Regions from separate parts of the Homo sapiens genome. Here all the other regions are linked to region 2. Evidence: promoter capture Hi-C in 16 types of primary human blood cells and fetal thymus (Javierre and others, 2016). All regions are on one chromosome and are shown on one strand. The core of a region is centred on a gene start or on the middle of the fragment in contact, and the rest is flanking DNA. Distances in the headings are between cores, read along the strand shown.

Region 1 (2,930 bases), core at 16-2,515, 290 kb after region 2:
GAGATCGAGACCATCCCGGCTAACACCGTGAAACCCCATCTCTACTAAAAATACAAAAAATTAGCCAGGCATGGTGGCAGGCGCCTGTAGTCCCAGCTTCTCGGGAGAATGGTGTGAACCCAGGAGACGGATCTTATGGTGAGCCGAGATTGAGCACTGCACTGCAGCCTGGCTGACAGAGCAAGACTCTGTCTCAAAAAAAAAAAAAAAAAAAAAAAGCTTCACTAGAAAAATATTGCCACAAAACAGATGACATTTATGACCCAACATACTTTCATGAATTTAAAAAGAAAAGAAAAAACTTAGTGAAACAATCGCCTTTAAAAAACAGGAGCTCAAAAAAACATATACAGTAGTTTAGGAAATATTTAGCAAGACAATGGGAAGTGAAACATAAGTTGGCAGAACTTAGCAAAAATGACAACCTAGAAACCAAGACCACAGTGGAAGCAGCAGAACGGAGACTCAGATTCTGCTGGAAACTGACCATATCCAAGTCCACAAAGAACATGTTACTAAACTTCAGAAATTAGACTGAGTCCAGAAAAGCTTCTCTGATCACAAAGCAATTCATTTAAAAACTAATAATAAAATAAGGAAGGAGAAAAATTCTACCACCTGGAAATGCTAAAATATTCTTTCATGTGCAACTCTTCCATTAGGGATATATTTTTAAAAATAAAAATAATTAAGGGTTATATTTTTATAAATGAAAATAATTAAGCTAGTACATATCAGAACCTATGGGACAGAGCTAAAGCAGAATTCTGGAAAAAACTTAAAGGTTTAATATTTATATTAATTTAACTGAAAGAAAGAAAACACCTAGGTATATATTTTTTAAAGCTAACATTTTGGTAAAAAGGAATGTGAGATGTGGGCAAAAAAAAAGAGATAAAAATAATTTTGAAAAGTGTAAGAGTAAAAATTTAACACAAAGTGTAAGTCATATAAAATGTAACTTTAAAACGTTATTGAGGAGAAAAAAATGAAAGAAATGGAAAGGCATGACATATTCTTAAGTAGGAAGACTTAAAGCAAAAAATTTAACTCTCCCAATGATATCTATAAATGGAATTTGAAGCCAATAAAAATATAGGATTTTAAAAAGCTAGATAAGCTGTTACTAAAACTTATAAGAAAAATCAACAGACATTCCATGTCTGGTAATAATGGACTTAGTTATTTAGATTAATTCTTGCAGTTAAAACAATGAATATTTGGATAACATATTAAACAAACTTGATTTTAAAAGCACTGAAAAGCTGACAAGATAATCAGGACTTCCCAAGTGATTAGGTTTTGCCCTGATTGGATTTTGCCCGTGGTTGATCAGGTTAAGTTGAGTTGGCTGTGGTTTTCATGGACTCTCAGAATGAAGAATACGGAAGTCAAAGGCCAAGACTCACCCAAGGTAGGAAGGAGGGTCTCATAGGAGACTCTTGCCTCACATTAAGCTGTGAGTCTGAAGGGGTTCACCTTCAGGGTAAGGACAAACCAAAGGTGAACCTGCTCCCCTTCCCACTACCCCAGGGGACCATGGGAGAGTTACCTTGACACTAAGCAAAGCAGAGAAAAGAAAAAGAAAACCCGTCCCTGATAGGACGTCATCACTGAATCATTGGCTGGCAGTATTTGCCCATATGCTGCTCAAATACATGTCTTTGGGATGAGCCAAGAAACTTTGAGCTATGAATTTAAAGTGATACACAACTACAGTACCCCCAAGCACCTGGCAGAAGCAAGCTCTAATCATCTCTGGAGGCAGATACTTTCATCCTAGGCCTCGAGGATTTTGTATAAATGGTTTCTCAAGGGCAGTAAGCAGTACAGTTGAAGATTACTAAACTCAGAAAACAAAGCACCAATAGTTAATGTCAGCAAAATAGACAGCAGAGGCGAGTTAGACAACTGCAGCTGTTTGAATGACCAGACACAGAGTACAAAGAGCTATGTTAATTTTATTTAAATAAATGTAAGGTAAGCTTTAAAATATCTGCAAGAAATAGTCAACAATAAAAATTGACATTGTGGGTTAGAAAAAGATCAACTAGCACTTCTAAAATTAAAAATAGAGTAACAGAAATTGAAAAGTCAGTGAATGGGTATGGTGGCAGATTAGACACTGTGGAAGACAGAATTAGAGAACTGAAGATAATGTGAATAAATTATACAGAATTATAGTGCAAAGAGGCAAAGAAATGAAAAATATAGGAGAGTGGTAAAGAGACGTAGAGGACAGAGAGAGAAGGTCTCTTTTTTCCAAGATGGTCTTTCTTCTCTTTCAAAAGTGTAATTGTTATTTCAGAAGATGAGAAAAAAGTGAGGTGGTAGGTTATTGAAAGAACAATAATAACTATTAAAGATAAGTGAAAAGAAATTTGCATCAAGGCACATCACAAAGAAATTGCAGAATACATAAACAAAGAGAAAATCTAAAAAGCAGCTAGCTAGAGTTGGGGTGCAGTGGAGTGTGATGATTAATGAATAAGACTACCCTACCAGGTGTCAAATGCATTGTAAAGTGGTATCAATTAACACCTCATGGTATTGGTATACGGGTAAGTAGATAGAAATATATATGGTAAACTAGTATATAACAGAAGTTGGTAGCTTAAATCAGTAGAGAAAAGGCAGCTTAAGTCAATAAAGGACACTAAAATATATAGACCTCTGAAAAAATATGTATATACTGAGATTCCAATGAACCCAAAATTTAGAAAGAAAAAAACCTCAGAAGAGTACTAGAAGAAAAAAAAAGAAGATACTTTAAAAATAAATTCAGAATAGTAAAGGCTTTTCTACATATAATAAAAAACTGAGAAACCATAAAATAATATATTGATAACTTTCACTACCCCCAAAATTTTAAGTGTGTCTTGTATTATAATATTATATAATATACAGTTATATAATAGTATTATACATGA
Region 2 (3,169 bases), core at 670-3,169:
GCAATCACTTATTTTTCCCATATGTTTTGAACATTATTTTTAAAAATAGATTGGGAATCTGGAGGGTAAAATGCCGGGTCCCTTCCCGAGCCCTTAGAGCCCGAACGTTGTCGAATCGGTCAATGTCCACCCCGCTGCTCACCTCTGTCCCAGCAGCGCCGGGGCCAGCGCGCCCTCCCGCCGCGTCTGCGGAGCTGCGGGAAAAGCAGGTCCCCGGGGGGTATCGAGTGTCCAGGGATATCCACGCAGACATCCTTGTACTTGCAAATACAAAGAAACACACAGGACAGAGATCAGGCTCGCGCCAGGGCTCGATCTCCTCGGGGCTCAGGGTTGGAGGCCGTACACAGCCTGGACACAAACTGAGCCAAAGAGTTTATTTTTAGCAAATAAGATATGAGTTTTTAGAAAATTGCTTCGAATAGCAAATCCGAGAAACATTATTTCAAAACGTTGGAATCAAAGGAAATCAAATGCCCACAACCCATTTCCGTCAGTGCTTACAAATGAGCTTCTGCAAAACCCAGTCCACTTAAACATTTGGTCGGAACTCACGAAAAGAACCAAAAGCAAGGCATTCCGAGTCCTGGCGGGGGTTGAGCGGCCGGGCGGACGCCTGGCTATCTCTTCTGGGAGTCGCGCATTCGATCGCATTCAGGTTAAAATTTAAAGCCCCTGGATCCTGCTCCAGTCGCCAGCCTCTCCATTCCAGAGTTTTCTACCTTCAGCCTTTTCCAAATGCGGCCACGCTGAAACTGGGAGCCGCCGCAGTGATTGGGGGAGGCAAAGTGGAACGTAATAAAAGTGACTAAATTGGATGAGAACGGTTTCTGGACCTTCTCGGTAGCAATTTAAAATTCAGAAGTGTTTAGAAGCAATTTACAACGAAGAATGAAAAACGAAGAATTCTCGCCAACTTCCTGAATTCCTTGCCCCCTCCCCCGCACTGCCAGGCCCTGTCCCGCTCCCCCAGGAGCCACAAGTTCACAACTCACAGTTACGTGCAGAGGAAACAACGCTTAGCTACGAGGTCTCACCATCTCTGGAAACCATACTTTACAAGGCACCTCTCCACCCCAGTTCAACTCTGCACAGGCTCCTCTTCCTTCCCTAACTGGGAAAACACGAAAATAGAAACAAAACAAAAAACCAGAGCCTAAACGCTTTCTAGGAGACCGACCTTCAGAAAATCATTTACTTGGATTTACCTGGGCGGGGGGTAGGGGGTGGGGTCGGGGTAAAGTATAAAAATTCATTCTCACAAAAACAACGCCTCTTGTCCTAAAGTCTCCCTCGGCAGCCTTCTGGGGTCACGTCTGTCGGAAGAAATCCTTTCTGTAAGCGAAAGGGAGCGAGACATATATCACGGCTCCTGCAGCGGACGAGCCTGCGGCCGCGCGAGTTGCCGCTGACAGATCGGCGCTGATAACCCCGCGACGTTCATTTCCAGTCCCTTTTGCCCGCTAGGGACCGTATCAGTTTGTACAGAGTTGTGATAACTGTTTGGAGGGAGCGAAGAGGGGGTGTGTATATGAACGTGGGGGTGGGGAAGCAGCATTTAGCGCTGGGTCCAGGGAAGGTGACACCCCCTCTTCGCAGTGACTTATCTGTGACTTACCTGAAACTCTCCAGGGAAATATCAGAAACTCTCCAGGGACATCAAAAGTTGGAGAGCGTCCTCGGACACGACTGATGTGGAAGCCCTTTTCCATTCTGCGTACCCCATAGACTACCTTTCCGTACATGACGACCCGAGTTAAAGTTCCCAAAGGTCAGCTGGGGAATGTTGTCTTGAGGTTCCCGAAACCACCACGACCTGAGCCGTAGCATCCCGAGATAGGGTCGGAGAAAGTTTAAGGTCGGTCTCACACAACTTCAGGGCAAAAAGCGCATTTGCTGTGAAGGGGCTAGGCGGGGGTTGGGGGGCGGGGGGGCGCAGAGCACGTTCCCCCTTCCTTCTGGGGGCGTGCTGACCCAAGGTCTGGAGCGCCCCTCCCGCCGCGGCGGCGGCGCGGGACTGTGCACTGCCAACTCCTCCCGTGCCAAGGCTCCCTCCCCCTCCCTCGTGTGGGTGTGTGTGTGCGACTGCGGGAGCGGGAGGGTGCACCGCCGCTGGATGGGTGCGGGTCGCTAGCCAGGTCAGGCGTTCTGTGGCCTCCGCCCCTCCCCCGGGGTCCCTGGGCTCGGTGCCCCCCGGGTGGACTCGCCCCCACTCCGGGGACAGGGCTTGCGGCTCAGCCCACGCCCGCAGGCAGCGCGGCTCTCATTGTCTGCCTGGGCGGCGCGCTCCCCTCCCCCCTCGCCGTCCCCTCCCCACCCTCTTTTCTCTCCTCCCCTCGATCCCTCCTCCTCCTCTTCACCTCCAGCGCCCAGCTGCTCGCTGAGCGCAGTTCCGACCCACAGCCTGGCACCCTTCGGCGAGCGCTGTTTGTTTAGGGCTCGGTGAGTCCAATCAGGAGCCCAGGCTGCAGTTTTCCGGCAGAGCAGTAAGAGGCGCCTCCTCTCTCCTTTTTATTCACCAGCAGCGCGGCGCAGACCCCGGACTCGCGCTCGCCCGCTGGCGCCCTCGGCTTCTCTCCGCGCCTGGGAGCACCCTCCGCCGCGGCCGTTCTCCATGCGCAGCGCCCGCCCGAGGTTCGGCTGCTTCCTCCTCGCGCGATCTCCCCGCTTTCCTCCCCTCCACCCCTACTCGTCGCGGGCCCCTGGCCTCCGGCTCTCCGGCCCTCTCCAGGCCGCGGTCGGCTCCGACGGTGTTTCCCTCCTTCCCTCCGGGCGGGCTGAGGCGGCTCCCAGGCTCCCGGGACACCGCGGACCAACTTCTAGTCTCTTTTTCTCTCCTCGAAGCGCTTATCTGCGCGCAGCCTTATCTCCGAGTTATCTCGGCGCAAAGGGGCGGGAGCCGGTAGTTAGGCAGGCAGAGAAACTTCTTTCTTGCTATCTAGCCAGGTCTGTGTGTGGGCATTAATTTTAGTGTGGTAATCTCCGATGAGCCGAGGCGATTTGGAAGAGCAGCCTGGAGGAGGCCAGCCCGGCTGCATTTCACCTCCCTCCCCCACTCGCTCCGAGTCTCCCTGTCATTCTTCCTGCTCTCCCATTTGGGGTCGCCTCGGCTCTGGGGCGGTCTCACGCTCCCCCCTCCCCAGCCCGTTGCGTTCCCCCTCCTTTTCTC
Region 3 (3,117 bases), core at 208-2,707, 270 kb after region 2:
CTACCAGTAGGAGCTCATGACATATGTATAATACTATGTTAAGATGGGACTTTCCTGTTGACTCAGAGTTTCAGCTATGTCCCCCAAATCTGAGAACAAATACAAGAGTTGTTTAATATCTCCCCATCCTGCACCTCTTGGGTGGCACTAGACTGTCCATGCAGGACAGGCTAAGAAATTGTGAAACCCTCTGCCAGAATTGGCCCATCACTCCCCTCTAGGATATAAAAGAGAAGACAAAGAATTCATTGTAATTAAAGAGGTCTGTGTTGAGGTTTTTTTTTTCTTTTCTTTTCTTTTTAAAGAATGGCTAATGGGCCATGTATTTCACCCATGGAAGAAAAAGAGAGAGTCTTTGAAGTAGGGTTTTAAGAGTACTATTTGAAAAGCTTGACATGGGTCCCCTGGTTAGAGAGAGACAGGCCTGGTATCTGATTGATCCCTGAAAAGAGTAAAGGTAAGAGGCTATGACTGGCCAGGAGCTCCAAGATAACAAAGCCAAGGGAAGAAGTTGATTAGAAAAGCTTGACTTCCTCAGTTGGGAAGGGGAAAGAACGTGTAAATTTCCTATGGGCCAAATATTGGGTCCAAAGAATGAAGCTGGATTATATCATTTTGAGAGGAACTATGTTGGTCATATGTGACTCCTAACAGAGAGACAAACTCCTGGAATTCATGGTGCTAGTCATTAGCAGCCAGTAAGAGGAGCACTGCCTATGTGAAGGTAGCTGTATGTGAGAGATCCTAGCAATAGTCAAGGAGAATTACAGAGGAGAGGACCCTAAGGACCTCATAGGAACACCCCAAAAAAGAGTGCATCTTCATAAGGAGTCTGCTATATGCAGAGGGCATCTATTCTAGGTTACAACTGCACCAGCCAGGTAAGACTTTTCTGTCCTTTAGCTGTCCTCTCTATTCCTACTTTCCCCTAACTCCTAGCCTGTGCCCAACCTTGGAGATGGTTAAAACAATAGCTTGCAAATAGGTGAGTTGGTGGAGCCAGACATGGGAAAAGAAGTTGGCCAAAGTGCCTATTTCCACTGCAGGTTTCCAAACCACTGGGGAAGGAGACATGTGTATTAGGCCATTCTTGCATTGCCATAAAGAAATACCCGAGGCTGCGGTAATTTATACAGAAAAGAGGTTTAATAGGCTCATGGTTCTGTCAGCTGTACAGGGAGCTTTGTGACAGAACTTGCTCAGCTTCTGGGGAGGCCTCAGGGAGCTTTTACTCATGGAAGCCAAAGGGAAAGTCAGTGCCTCAGAAAGCAGAGCACGAGCAAGAGAGTGAGTGGGGGTGGGGCACACACTTCAATGACCAGATCTCATGCGAACTCAGAACAAGAGCTCAATCATCATCCAGGGGATGGCCCAAGCTATTCATGAGGAATCCACCCCCATGATCCAAACACTTCTCACCAGGCCCTACCTCCAACACTGGGGATTACATTTCAACATCAGATTTGGGCAGGGACAAATAAACACCCAAATTATATCAACATGTTTTTGATTAGACCACAAATTTAAGCTATGCATTTATTTTATAGGGCTGAACTTCTATTATGTAAAAAATGACCAGATAACTATAGACATGCTTGTGATTAAGCTAGCAATGGAAAAAAACAAGTCAAAAGAACAGATTTGAAGGGCCTGTTGTGGGAAAGAATAAGGTGGCATTCTAATTGATTTGAGAAATTCAACACATATACATGTACATATTTATGCACATACAAGGCCACAGCCTCATTTGTGTCTTGCCACATCTACTCATGCCACCTCTGATGAGTTTTCATCCACCAGCAATGTGAAATTTTTTGAAAAGCAAATCTTATCAAGTGATCTCTGCCTAAAATCCCCCAGTGGCTCCGTATCACTCCTAGATTAAAGACCCACACCCAGACCCTAGAAGGTTAAGCTATCCTTACCAAGTTCAACCAGTAGCACACTCCTTCTCATTCTATGTGCTCTCATTTTTTCCCCCAGAAACTTGTACTGCTTTCCCACCTCACCTTTGCACGTAACTCTTCCCTCTGCCTGGAATATAGTTTTCTTTCTTCTTTGAAGCCTGATCCTTCAAAGGTCAATTGTCCTTTCCTCAGAGAAATCTGTGTTGACCTTCCCAGGTCAAATTTCCTTATTATATAATCTTATATTACTATTTACTTCTCCTTTACAGCTTATATCACAGTTATGTTTTACATTATGTGATATTTGTTAGTATGTGCATCCTCTACTTGACTGTAAATGTTATAAGGGCAGTTACCAAATCTATTTTTGTTTCCCATAGAATCACCAATACCTGCTACCAATAGGGGGCCTGCTACCAAGTAAGTTATTGGATATTTGAAAAGTGAATGTGTGGCAGCCAAAATATATAATGCACCTATGAATAAGCTTAAAGAAATGTGTCCATATGAGAAAAACTACAAAAATTTACAGAGGAAAATATAAGAAATGCTTAGGTACAAATTTAGCAAACATATTTATTACCTATATGAGAAAAAACTTTGATGAAAGAAATCAAAGAACTAAGTGGAGAGATATCCCATATTCATGGATAGGAAGACTCACTATTATCAAGATGTTGATTCTTCCCAACTAGATCTACAGATTTAATACAATCCCAGTCAAACTCCCAGCAAGTATTTTTTGTGGCTATCAAAAAACTAATTCTAAAGTTTATATGGAGAGGAAAAAGACCCAGAATAGACAACACAATACTGAAGGAGAACAAAATTGGAGAACTAACACTACCAAACATGAAAACTTACTGTAAAGTTACAGTAATCAGCACAGTGTGGTGCTGGTGAAAGAAGAGACAAATAAATCAATGGAACAGAATAAAGAGCCCAGAAATAGACCCACACAAACATATTCAACTGATCTTTGACAAAGAAGCAAAGGCAATACAATGCAGAAAAGATAGTTTTTCTAACAAATGGTGCTGGAACAACTGGAAATCCTCTTTAGAGAAAAAAGAATAGAGGAGAGGAGGGGAAAATTTTTAAAAATTTAAAAATTTTAAAAAAGAATCCAGACACAGACCTTATAAACTTCACGAAAATTAACTAAAAAAAAAATCACAGATCTAACTGTAAAATACAAAACTATAAAGCT

Evidence for each region. The method cuts DNA at HindIII sites, captures the fragments that hold promoters and counts their contacts. A CHiCAGO score of 5 or more calls a contact.
Region 1: a fragment that was not itself captured here is called in contact with the fragment with the promoter of GATA6-AS1 in region 2 in 1 of 17 cell types (endothelial precursors); the score reaches 5.9 in endothelial precursors.
Region 3: a fragment that was not itself captured here is called in contact with the fragment with the promoter of GATA6-AS1 in region 2 in 4 of 17 cell types (endothelial precursors, M1 macrophages, total CD8 T cells and 1 more); the score reaches 7.8 in endothelial precursors.

The regions. Positions count from the first base shown.
Region 1 is chr18:22,459,276-22,462,205 of GRCh38, forward strand. All of the region lies in intron 2 of LOC124904260 (a long non-coding RNA gene), which reads right to left. Among named protein-coding and RNA genes, the nearest start is that of CTAGE1, 43 kb to the left of the region's middle. The HindIII fragment of the contact is 1,436 bases long and covers 548-1,983 here.
Region 2 is chr18:22,167,049-22,170,217 of GRCh38, forward strand. It overlaps GATA6-AS1 (GATA6 antisense RNA 1 (head to head)), which reads right to left and starts at 1,920. Exons shown (of 2, transcript NR_102763.1): 1 at 1,619-1,920; 2 at 1-1,335. GATA6 (GATA binding protein 6) reads left to right here and starts at 2,541. Exons shown (of 7, transcript NM_005257.6): 1 at 2,541-2,634. RefSeq lists an enhancer at 186-689. The HindIII fragment of the contact is 8,900 bases long and covers 1-3,169 here.
Region 3 is chr18:22,439,527-22,442,643 of GRCh38, forward strand. No RefSeq gene overlaps it. Among named protein-coding and RNA genes, the nearest start is that of CTAGE1, 23 kb to the left of the region's middle. The HindIII fragment of the contact is 1,870 bases long and covers 523-2,392 here.